Linked DNA regions of Homo sapiens: regions 1 and 2 are each linked to region 3. The links are contacts of gene promoters, found by promoter capture Hi-C in human tissues and cell types (Jung and others, 2019). All regions are on one chromosome and are shown on one strand. The core of a region is centred on a gene start or on the middle of the fragment in contact, and the rest is flanking DNA. Distances in the headings are between cores, read along the strand shown.

Region 1 (3,188 bases), core at 286-2,785, 170 kb after region 3:
GCCGGGCGCGGTGGCTCACGCCTGTAATCCCTGCACTTTGGGAGGCCCAGGAGGGAGGATCACGAGGTCAGGAGATCGAGACCATCCTGGCTAACACGGTGAAACCCTGTCTCTATTAAAAATACAAAAAAAAATTAGCCGGGCATGGTGGCGGGCACCTGTAGTCCCAGCTACTTGGGAGGCTGAGGCAGGAGGATGGCGTGAACCCGGAAAGCAGAGCTTGCAGTGAGCTGAGATAGTGCCACTGCACTCCAGCCTCGGCGACAGAGAGAGACTCCGTCTCAAAAAAAAAAAAAAAATAGGGTAGGATTAAAAGGTGTGACATGAGCATGAGGTTTATAGACAATGAGTGCTCCATAAAGTATCCTAAGGTAGACCCCTTGAGAGAGGTTACTGATCTTCTGGGAGATTTGGTTTGTTTTGTTTCCTAATGGGACAGATGTTACTGGTGTCTGCTCTGAGGAGGGAAAGGGCAAGACTGTCATCCCCAAGAGGACAGGAGCTGGGTGCACTGTATTCACCACTGTGTTCTCGGGATTTAGCACACAAGAGGCACTCGAACTCCTGACCTCGTGATCCACCCGCCTTCGCCTCCCAAATTGCTGGGAGCGTGAGCCTGACCAAGATGGCAAAACCCTGTCTCTACTAAAAATACAAAAATTAGCCAGGCATGGTGGCAGTCACCTGTAATCCCAGCTACTCAGGAGGCTGAGGCAGAGAATTGCTTGAACCAGGGAGGCGGAGGTTGCAGTGAGCTGAGATCGCACCACTGCGCTCCAGCCTGGGCGACAGAGCGAGACTGTCAAAAAAAAAAAGGCACTCGAGAAATGTTTATAAGACGAATACATGTTATGTACTCAGAATACTGTCTAGATCAAATAGGAGATAAATAAATGTGGCCGGGCACAGTGGCTCACACCTGTAATCCCAACACCTTGAGAGGCCAAGGCAGGGGAGGATCACTTGAGCTCAGGAGTTCGAGACCAGCCTGGGAAATATAGTGAGACCCTTGTCTCTACAAAAAAGTTTAAAAAATAGCCAAGTGTGGGTGGCAGCTGCCTGTAGTCCCAACTACTCAGGAGGCTGAGGTGGGAAGATCACTTGATCCCAGGAGGCTGAGGCTGCAGTGAGCCCGGATCATGCCACTGCACTCCAGCATGAACAACAGCAAGACCCTGTCTCAAAAAAAAAAAAAAAAAAAGAGAGAGGAGACTTCTGGTCCAACTTTGTTGTAAGACATTCCGGAACTATAGAAGTGCATATAGTTAAGATTCAAAGTCTCCCCATCTCCCCACTCCCTAGAAATAACATCTCATAACTGTTTATTGTTATGAGATAACTCCCTGGCTTTTGGTCCTGTGTTTACAGTCGCACGCGTTTGGTGCCTTTTAGGGGAGGTGTTTACACGAACGGAATCATGTTGCTCTGCAGCTTGCTTTTTTCACCTAACAGTGATGGCCGTGGCCATTTCCCAGTGGGATCCGGGCTGGGATAGAGAGGCAGCAAGGCTGCAAAAGCCCTGGAAGAAAGACAGGAGAGAGGGGTGTGCGTGCGTGCGTGTGTGTGAATGCGTGTGCGCGCATGTGTTCGTGCGTGCGCGTGCGTGTGTGCACGTGTGCATGTGTGTGTGTGTGCGTGTGTGTGTGCATGTGTGTGCGTGTGTGTGTGTTCGGGGACCAGGGAGGCATCTTCACAGGTCCCTAGGCACAGTGGAGGGGAACCTGGCAGAGAAGCCCCCATCATCAGCTCATCAGCTCCCAGAGGACAGTGGTCTCTGTCTCCAGACGAGCTCTCTGAGGCAGGATACACGCCATGTTGTTCACTGCCATATGTCCAGGGCCCGGCACATTGTAGGTGCTCAAGAAATATTTGCTCAATGAATTGAGTCCTTACTGGGCCCATCTTCTTTGGCAGGGTCAAAGACCACTTGGTCTCTGTGACTGTTCCTTTTAATCTTATGTTGAGTTAAATCTCATTTCAACTCATGCTCAGATGGCAATGACCCCAGATGGACCCCCGGAGATGGGGAGAGGGAGGAGCACCTCCCCTCAGGCACATCACTGCCCCCTCTGCTGTCAGTTTGCTCACCTCCCTAATGAGGGGGTTGGGCCAGCAGATCTCAGGGGTCCTTCCAGCTCTGTTGTCTGCGGCTTTCATCCCACTCCCTCATTTCACAGATGAGGGGTTGAGTCGAGTTTAATTTTGTCAGCTGCCTCAGAAATCCATTGGGAAAAGGGGGGTCTGAGGTTGGGGATGCAACAAAAGCTGTTGCCATATAGTCAGCACCAACTGCGTGCCAGACATCCGGCTGGCTGCGAGCTTTATGGGCACTGTCTGAATCCTCAGGACATTTCACTAATGAGAAAACTGAGGCTCAGAGAGGGGGATAACTTGCCGAAGGTCACACAGTGAGTCGATGAGAACTGGGGCTGGAACTCAGGCCTCCCTGTCCTTAAATGGAGAGCTCGTCCCTCAGTGGACTGAAGTCAGTGAGAGAGACAGAACCAGGCTGGACCAAAGCTTTCTCCAGAAACTTCAAGGGTCCATCCCTCATCTTTCCCCAGACAGGCTGACTTCTGTGTCTAAGGCCTATGGTGACATGGCTGGAATTTTGGCCAGGAAAGTAGTTGACTTGCCAAATTGGCTGGCAAGGGTGGGGCACGAGAGACTTCTGATGGGTTCAATGGCCCTGAGCCTGGGCCCTACGCTACCTTCTCTCCCAGCCAGCTTCCTGGAGCTAGGGTGGGCCCATCTGCATTATTCAGCCCTTGTCCCTCACTCCCCACCTTGTGTGGGCTCCTGGGGTTGGCGTCTAGACAGACAAGAGCATCCTACTGAGAACAGAGGCAGCCCTGACTCGGGGCTGAAGGTTCCTATGGCAACGGCATCCCCCTTCAGCTGGCAGCTACCTGATAAATAAATAATTAGGGGTGGGGGCGGGGAGCGAAGGGCAGGGGGAAGGGCAGCAGGGAGCCTCAGGGAGGCCCCACTCTGGAGAGCAGAAGGGCCAGTTAGGTTTGAAGTAGGGTGGAGGGCAGGGGGGTTGGCATTGCTAGGTGAAAGAAAGTGGACGGAAAAAAGTGGCCAGATATGAGAGATTTGGAAGATCCCAGAGAGCCAGGGCTTGAGGATGGGCTGCGGCGAGTGGGGGACGTGGAACAAGTGGGGAGCATGAGGGAGACTGAAAC
Region 2 (3,287 bases), core at 239-2,738, 230 kb before region 3:
GTTCCTCTGCTATTATGCAAACTCATTGAATGTGCGTCATCTGTCTATACCACCCCCACTGCCCTCAACATCACTGTGGGACTTGGGGGGCAAGTGAAACTATTGACTCAGACATGAAACTGATGCTACTTCCTGGGCTGTGAGTAATAAAGTCCTTTGTCTCTGACCCAAGACTCTCAAGTCTTCTGCCAGCATCCACAATACTGTGACAGCTAAGGATCTGGGCTGGCCTCCTCCCACCTCTGCCTCCCAAAATGTTGGGATTACAGGCATGAGCCAACACGCCTGGCAAAAAGTTTTTAAGAATCAAAAAGTTTTAATAAAGTAAAAAAGTTACTGAAGCGAAGGTTAATTTATTTTTAAAGAAAATTTTAAAAACATATTTAGTGTAGCCTGAGTGTACAGTTTATAAAGTCTACAGTAGTGTATAGTAATGTGCTAGGCCTTCGCGTTCACTCACCACTCACTGACACTCAAGCAACTTCCAGTTCTGCAAGCTTCACTCATAGTAAGTGCCCTATACAGATGTACCATTTAAAAATCTTTCATAATATATTTTTATTGTAACCTCTCTATGTTTAAATATTTTTCGATACACAGCTACTCACCATTGCATTGCCTACAGTAACAGTATAATAACATGCTGTACAGGTTTGTATCCTAGGAGCAACAGGCTGTACCACGTAGTCTAGGTGTACTTGTAGTAGGCTATCTCATCTAAGTGTGGGTAAGTACACTCTGTGATGTTCACACAACAATAAAATCCTCTCTCGGAACACATCCCAGCTGTTAAGCAACAAACATAAAATGCTATTTATAAAAGACACCATTTATAAAAGCATTAAAAAAAACTATGGGATATCTTGGAATAAACCTAAGAGATAAGCAATATTTTTATGGAGAAAATTATACTTTCTTTTTCTTTTTTTTGAGATGGAGTCTTGCTCTGTTGCCCAGGCTGGAGTGCAGTGACACGATCTCGGCTCACTGCAACCTCCGCCTCAAGGGTTCAACAGATTCCCTTGCCTCAGCCTCCTGAGTAGCAGGGACTACAGGAGCCTGCCACCATGCCCAGCTAATTTTTGTATTTTTAGTAGAGACGGGGTTTCACCATGTTGGCCTGGCTGGTCTCGAACTCCTGACTTCAAGCAATCCATCCACCTCAGCCTCCCAAAGTGCTGGGATTACAGGCATGAACCACCATGCCTGGCCTAAAACTTTCTTGATGGTCATTCAAGAGACCCAGATAAATGGAGAAGTATAACTTGCTCATAGAAGAAAACACTTAATTGTAAAGATGTTATTTTTAAATTAACCTATAAATTTATTTTACTTTCAATAAGAGGTTCAAAGAAGAGTTTTTTAAAATTAATATCTTGGGAAACATGTCAAGCTTATCCTAAGGTCATATGAAAGAACAAATAGTTAAGAGTAGCCAAGGTAATTTTGAAGAAAATTAACAAAACGAGGAGAATCACCCTCCACATAACAAGATGTATACAACCAAAGTCATTAAGGCAGGGAGGTATTGGTAGAGGGATGTACAAATAACTGGATGAGATAGAGCTGAAAGCTCAGAAACAGAGCTATGCAGACTGGAAGTTCAACCTATGTCAGAGGTGGCATTTAAATCAATTCCCTCCAATACCTGGTGGTGGGAAAACTGGTTTTCCGTGTGGAAGAAAGAGAAGTATATACCTGTATCACACTGTTAACAAAACTCCCAAGGAATCAAGTCACCATGACTGAGAGCCAGCTAGAAACCATAAATAATAAACTTAGACCCCAAAGACTTCCGATATTGGATTTATCAAACATGGAATATAAAACACCATAATTGTGAATAAAATATTTTAGTAAATATAACATCAAATTACGAAAATGAGCAAGCAAAAAGATACTCTAAAAAATGATCAGGCAGGGCGGGCACAGTGGCTCACACCTGTAATCCCAGTACTTTGGGAGGCCAAGGCAGGAGGATTGCTTGAGCCCAGGAGTTTGAGATCAGCCTGGGCAACATAGCGAGACCTAGTCTCTACAAATAATAATAAAAAAAAATTAGTCGGTCATGGTGGCACACATCTGTGGTCCCAGCTACTCAGGAGGCTGAGGTGGGAGAATTGCTTGAGCCTAGGCGGTAGAGGCTGCAGTGAGCCATGATCATGCATGCCACTGCACTCCAGCCTGGGCAACAGAGGGAGACACTGTCTCAAAAAAAAAAAAAAAAAAAGTGATGAGGTAGATGTGGAAAAAAACAACTAAATAGAGACAATAGAAAGGAAAATGAGATACTGAAATTAAAGAAAAGAAAGAAAACCTGGTGTCTGGGCTGAGTATCAGGTGAGAAACAACATTATAATAGCCACAAGCTGGAAACAATCAGATATTTATCAACAAAACTATGTATGAGTAAGTTGTGTTATATTCATATAATGGAATAGTATACAGTGGTGAAAATAAACATATGATATTTATTCATAACAAAAAGAATAAATCTTAAAAAATGCAATGTAGAGTAAGAAAGCATGACAAAAATAATACACACTGTAAGATTCCATTTATATAAAATCCAAAAACAGGTTAAAACACATCTTTAGGCATGCACAGAGGACAAAGCCATAAAAAGTAAGCAAGACAATGATTACCATAAGGTCAGGGTAATGGTTTCCTTTAAGAGAGAAAGTAAGGGATTGTGATGGGATATACACAGGGAGCTTTTAGGAGTGCCTATCATCTTCTACTTTATGACCTGGGGGATTATGTAGATGTTTGCTTTATAATTGTTATTTAAGCTGTGCAATTGTATTTGATATGCCTTTCCATATTGTGCTGTATTTCACAATTAAAAAAATTTGAGGCCGGGCACGGTGGCTCGTGCCTGTAATCCCAGCACTTTGGGAGGCCGAGATGGGTGGATCACTTGAGGTCAGGAGTTTGAGATCAGCCTGGCCAACATGGTGAAACCCAGTCTCTACTAAAAGTACAAAAACTAGCTGGGCATGGTAGCAGGCATCTGTAATCCCAGCTACTCGGGAGGCTAAGGCAGATAATCACTTGAACCTGGGAGGCAGAGGTTGTGATGAGCCGAGATCATGCCACTGCACTCCAGCCTGGGTGAAAGAGGGAGTCCACCTAAAAAAAAAAAAAATATATATATATATATATGTATATATATATATACATATTTGAAAAGCACAGTAGGTTAGATATAGCTGAAGAGAAAGCTGAAAGACAGATATGAAGAAATTAACCAGAATTCAATAGAGAGAGACAAGGTGATGGAAAAT
Region 3 (3,261 bases), core at 289-2,788:
TGGGCCCTCAGGTCAGGACAGGACAGGACTCCCTTTAGAGGCACCACGCTAGTTTTATGTCTGGCTGCCCAGAGGTGAATGTGTGTCTTGTTCCCTGTTGTCTCTCTCCAAAGCAGGGCCTGGCACAAAGTAGGTGCTTTATTAACTGCTGAATTAATGAGTGAGCTCCTCAGAGCTTCAACTTGTTCACCTTTTTAAAAAGAGAAAATAATACAGTAACACCTACTTCATGGATTTTGCTTTAAAAGTCCAATGAGGCCAGGTGTGGTGGCGTGTGCCTATAGTCCCAGCTGCTGGGGAGGCTAAGGTAGGAGGATCCCCTGAGCCCCGGAGTTTGAGGCTGCAGTGAGCTATGATGGCGTCACAGTACTCCAGCCTGGGAGACACAGCGAGAGACTTTGTCTCTAAAAAATAATAATAAAATAAAAAGTTCAATGAAACAATACACCCAAAGCCCTCAGCATGCAATAAATAGCAAGACAAGGCAGGTCTTATTTTTACTGAAAGTGCTTAGTAAACTATACAGTGACAAACCACCGCACAACAGGCTCTCGAAAGGAGGCAGCAAATTACCCAAAAGTGCAGGCGGCTTGCTAGTGTGCACAGGCCAAAGAAAGGGCGGCAGGTGGGGAAGGCAGCCATGGGCCTTGAAGAGCTGACCGAATTGGCAGAATTTCTGCAGGAGGGGAGCTGGGAACGACCTGAGCTAAAGCTCGGAGCTGTGCGAAGAAACCGGAAAAGCCCAGAGCACTTGCAGGGGCGGGTGGGGAGCTAGATGGTGGGGTGGGGTGGGGACGGAGGAGGGCCAGCAGGAGACATTCCGCAGGGAGGGGCAAGCACGTGTGAGGCGGGCGGGGCGCGAAGGGTCAGGCTTTTGCTCAAAACAGGCAGAGGACAAGGTCAGCTCAGCCGCAGACCGAGCCGCTGGTGACTGTCTCCGCCACCAGGCAGTGAGAGTGAAGGGAGAGCGCGAGCTCTGAAGCCCGCTAGACTAAGCTTGCAATCTGAGCTCCATTCACCCCCTCCTATTTCTTGAGACCTTGTCAGTTCCCCTGTGAGCCTCGGACTCCTCACTTGTAAAACGAGGACAGATGCCCGTGCCAGAAGTCAACCAGAGCTTTCCCCGGCGTGGGCACCAGCCCAAGGGCGTTTTGCTTTTCTAGTCTCATCTCTGCTCTGACGCTAAGCTCAAAGAGGGACTGGGGGACGGGAAGATATCCACCATGGCATGCGCCCTAGCTCTCGGGCTGGTGTTGGCTGCTTCCTTCTCAGATTCCAGAGTGCCTAGAGGCCAGGAAAGGGAGAAGGTCCTACCAGCCTGGGGTAGGGACTCGGGGGCCAGGCACTGGCGCTGACGCAGGCTAGCAGGGCGCCACTGGCTGGTCCCCACCCACCTCGGTGGGTTGGGGGATGGGCGCACCAGCCCCTCCTGGGTGAGCCCTAGCCTGGGGCTTCCTATTTCGGGAGCCGGGGGCGTGGGCCACGTCTCCTCATGTGATGCGAGGGCTATTTAAAGCGGCAGCCCGGGCAGGGAGCCGCCGTCGGAGCCCTTGCACGCCTGCTCTCTTGTAGCTTCTCTCAGCCTAGCCCAGCATCACTATGGTGGACGCTTTCCTGGGCACCTGGAAGCTAGTGGACAGCAAGAATTTCGATGACTACATGAAGTCACTCGGTGAGCAAGCCGCGGGGCTCAGGATGTTGGCTTGGGGACTGGCTGGTGGCGTGCCTAGCCCCACGCAGCACTCCTGCCGCATCCCTCCTGGTTAAGACTGGGGAATAGGGGAGCGCGGAGATGGCAGCCTGGCCTAGAGCAGGTGGGGCCTGTTCAGAGGGGGCTTTGGTGGTCCAAATCTGGTTAGAGACCACGGTAGGGAGGTGGTGGAAGGAGGCAGCTGTGTGGGAGGCTCTTTCCAGGAAGAGGGATATGTGATTTGGAGGTAGGAGGAGGGTTTGGATAAAGAACACTGATCACAGGAAAGGGAGTGTAGCCAGGGGAGAAAAAGAACAGGGGCATGGGTAGTTTAGAAATTGGAGGAGACTGAACCCAGAAAGGGAATGGGGCAGCCAGGGAGTGTACAATGATGTAAACAAGTAGGAAATACCTAGGAGGAAAAAGATTAGTGGGGAAAAAACTGTGGATCAGTGAATCAGATATGAGAAGGACGTAAGACAGGAACCTGCAGTAAGCAGCAATCCCCATCTCTGCTTGGTTAGGGAAGAGAATTCTTGCTGGAGAATGCCCTTTCTCACCAGCCAGTCTGACCTTGTCCTGCAGTCTATGTATCCAGGCCTTCATCACTGTCTGTGAGCCTCGTGGTAGGGTGGGGCAAGAGGCCCATGATCAGCTGGGCCTTTCCTGCAACCCAAGGCTCACCTATCTGTGCGAGGGGTAGGCAGAGAAAGCCATTGGACTTCTGATGTGCAGTAGAGGGTCCCAAGGCAAGGTCAAGACCTGGGAGGGAGGATCACTGGTTTAGGAGGATGTGGAGAACTGCTGTGGTGTTGGGATGGAGAAGAATCAGGATTCAAAGAATCTCACAGGTGAGGAACTTGGAGATTCCCATACCATCTAGTTCAACAGGGAAACTGAAACCAGGAGAGTAGAAATGTATTATAACAATTCCACAGCAGAGCCAATATGAAAATCTAAGGTTTCTAGATCTGTAACCCAGAGCTCTTCCCACTACCCTACAGGCCCTGCGAGTGGGAAGAAAAGTAGAAACTGCTTAGCTAATGATTGACCTCAGCCCTTCTTCTACTGCTTTGGGCTTAGATGGAGAGGTCAAAGCTCTCAACGGCCTCTACCCTATCTTGGGCGCTATGCCCAGTAATTCTAGGCAGGCAGTCATTCTTAGAGGAGCAGCCCCCAGCCCCCACGAACACAGCCCAGCAGCTATTGGGAAGTTGGAATGCCCAGATTTAGTTCCTCCTTCCAAAGCTGGGCCAGAGCTGAGTCTTGAATTGAGCTGCAACAACTTTACCATTCTTGTTCCCTTATTCTGCCCCGAGTTGGGTCAGCGGGCTGGTCTCCCTGAAGTCCTGTTATCTTTCAGCAGCTTATGTTAAGGCAGCCAGCATTCTCATCGTAGGAATGGAAAGCCTGGGAAAATACCCTCCTCAGCTCTCAGTAAGTAGTGCTGGCTTCATTTCTAAGTAGAACCCAGATCTCCCTGAGTCTCCTAAATTCTGTCAGCTCAATATTCTTAGTTTCTCTTGGTTCAGACCCTCACTCATCCCGCAGTGGTTTCCTTTTCAAACACT

What was found. The method cuts DNA at HindIII sites, captures the fragments that hold promoters and counts their contacts. A contact is called where the count stands out against the background at its distance.
Region 1: a fragment that was not itself captured here is called in contact with the fragment with the promoter of FABP3 in region 3 in 2 of the 25 tissues and cell types used here (H1 embryonic stem cells and thymus).
Region 2: a fragment that was not itself captured here is called in contact with the fragment with the promoter of FABP3 in region 3 in 1 of the 25 tissues and cell types used here (IMR-90 fibroblasts).

What each region holds. Positions count from the first base shown.
Region 1 is chr1:31,198,472-31,201,659 of GRCh38, reverse strand. The region is part of intron 1 of NKAIN1 (sodium/potassium transporting ATPase interacting 1); the gene reads left to right. Among named protein-coding and RNA genes, the nearest start is that of NKAIN1, 40 kb to the left of the region's middle. RefSeq lists an enhancer at 2,666-3,166. The HindIII fragment of the contact is 6,249 bases long and covers 1-3,188 here.
Region 2 is chr1:31,602,829-31,606,115 of GRCh38, reverse strand. No RefSeq gene overlaps it. Among named protein-coding and RNA genes, the nearest start is that of HCRTR1, 13 kb to the left of the region's middle. RefSeq lists an enhancer at 1-857. The HindIII fragment of the contact is 3,458 bases long and covers 1-3,217 here.
Region 3 is chr1:31,371,353-31,374,613 of GRCh38, reverse strand. It overlaps FABP3 (fatty acid binding protein 3), which reads left to right and starts at 1,538. Exons shown (of 4, transcript NM_004102.5): 1 at 1,538-1,672. The coding sequence starts at 1,600. LOC124903892 (a long non-coding RNA gene) reads right to left here and starts at 315. Exons shown (of 2, transcript XR_007065573.1): 1 at 227-315. RefSeq lists a silencer at 1,058-1,352. The HindIII fragment of the contact is 11,361 bases long and covers 1-3,261 here.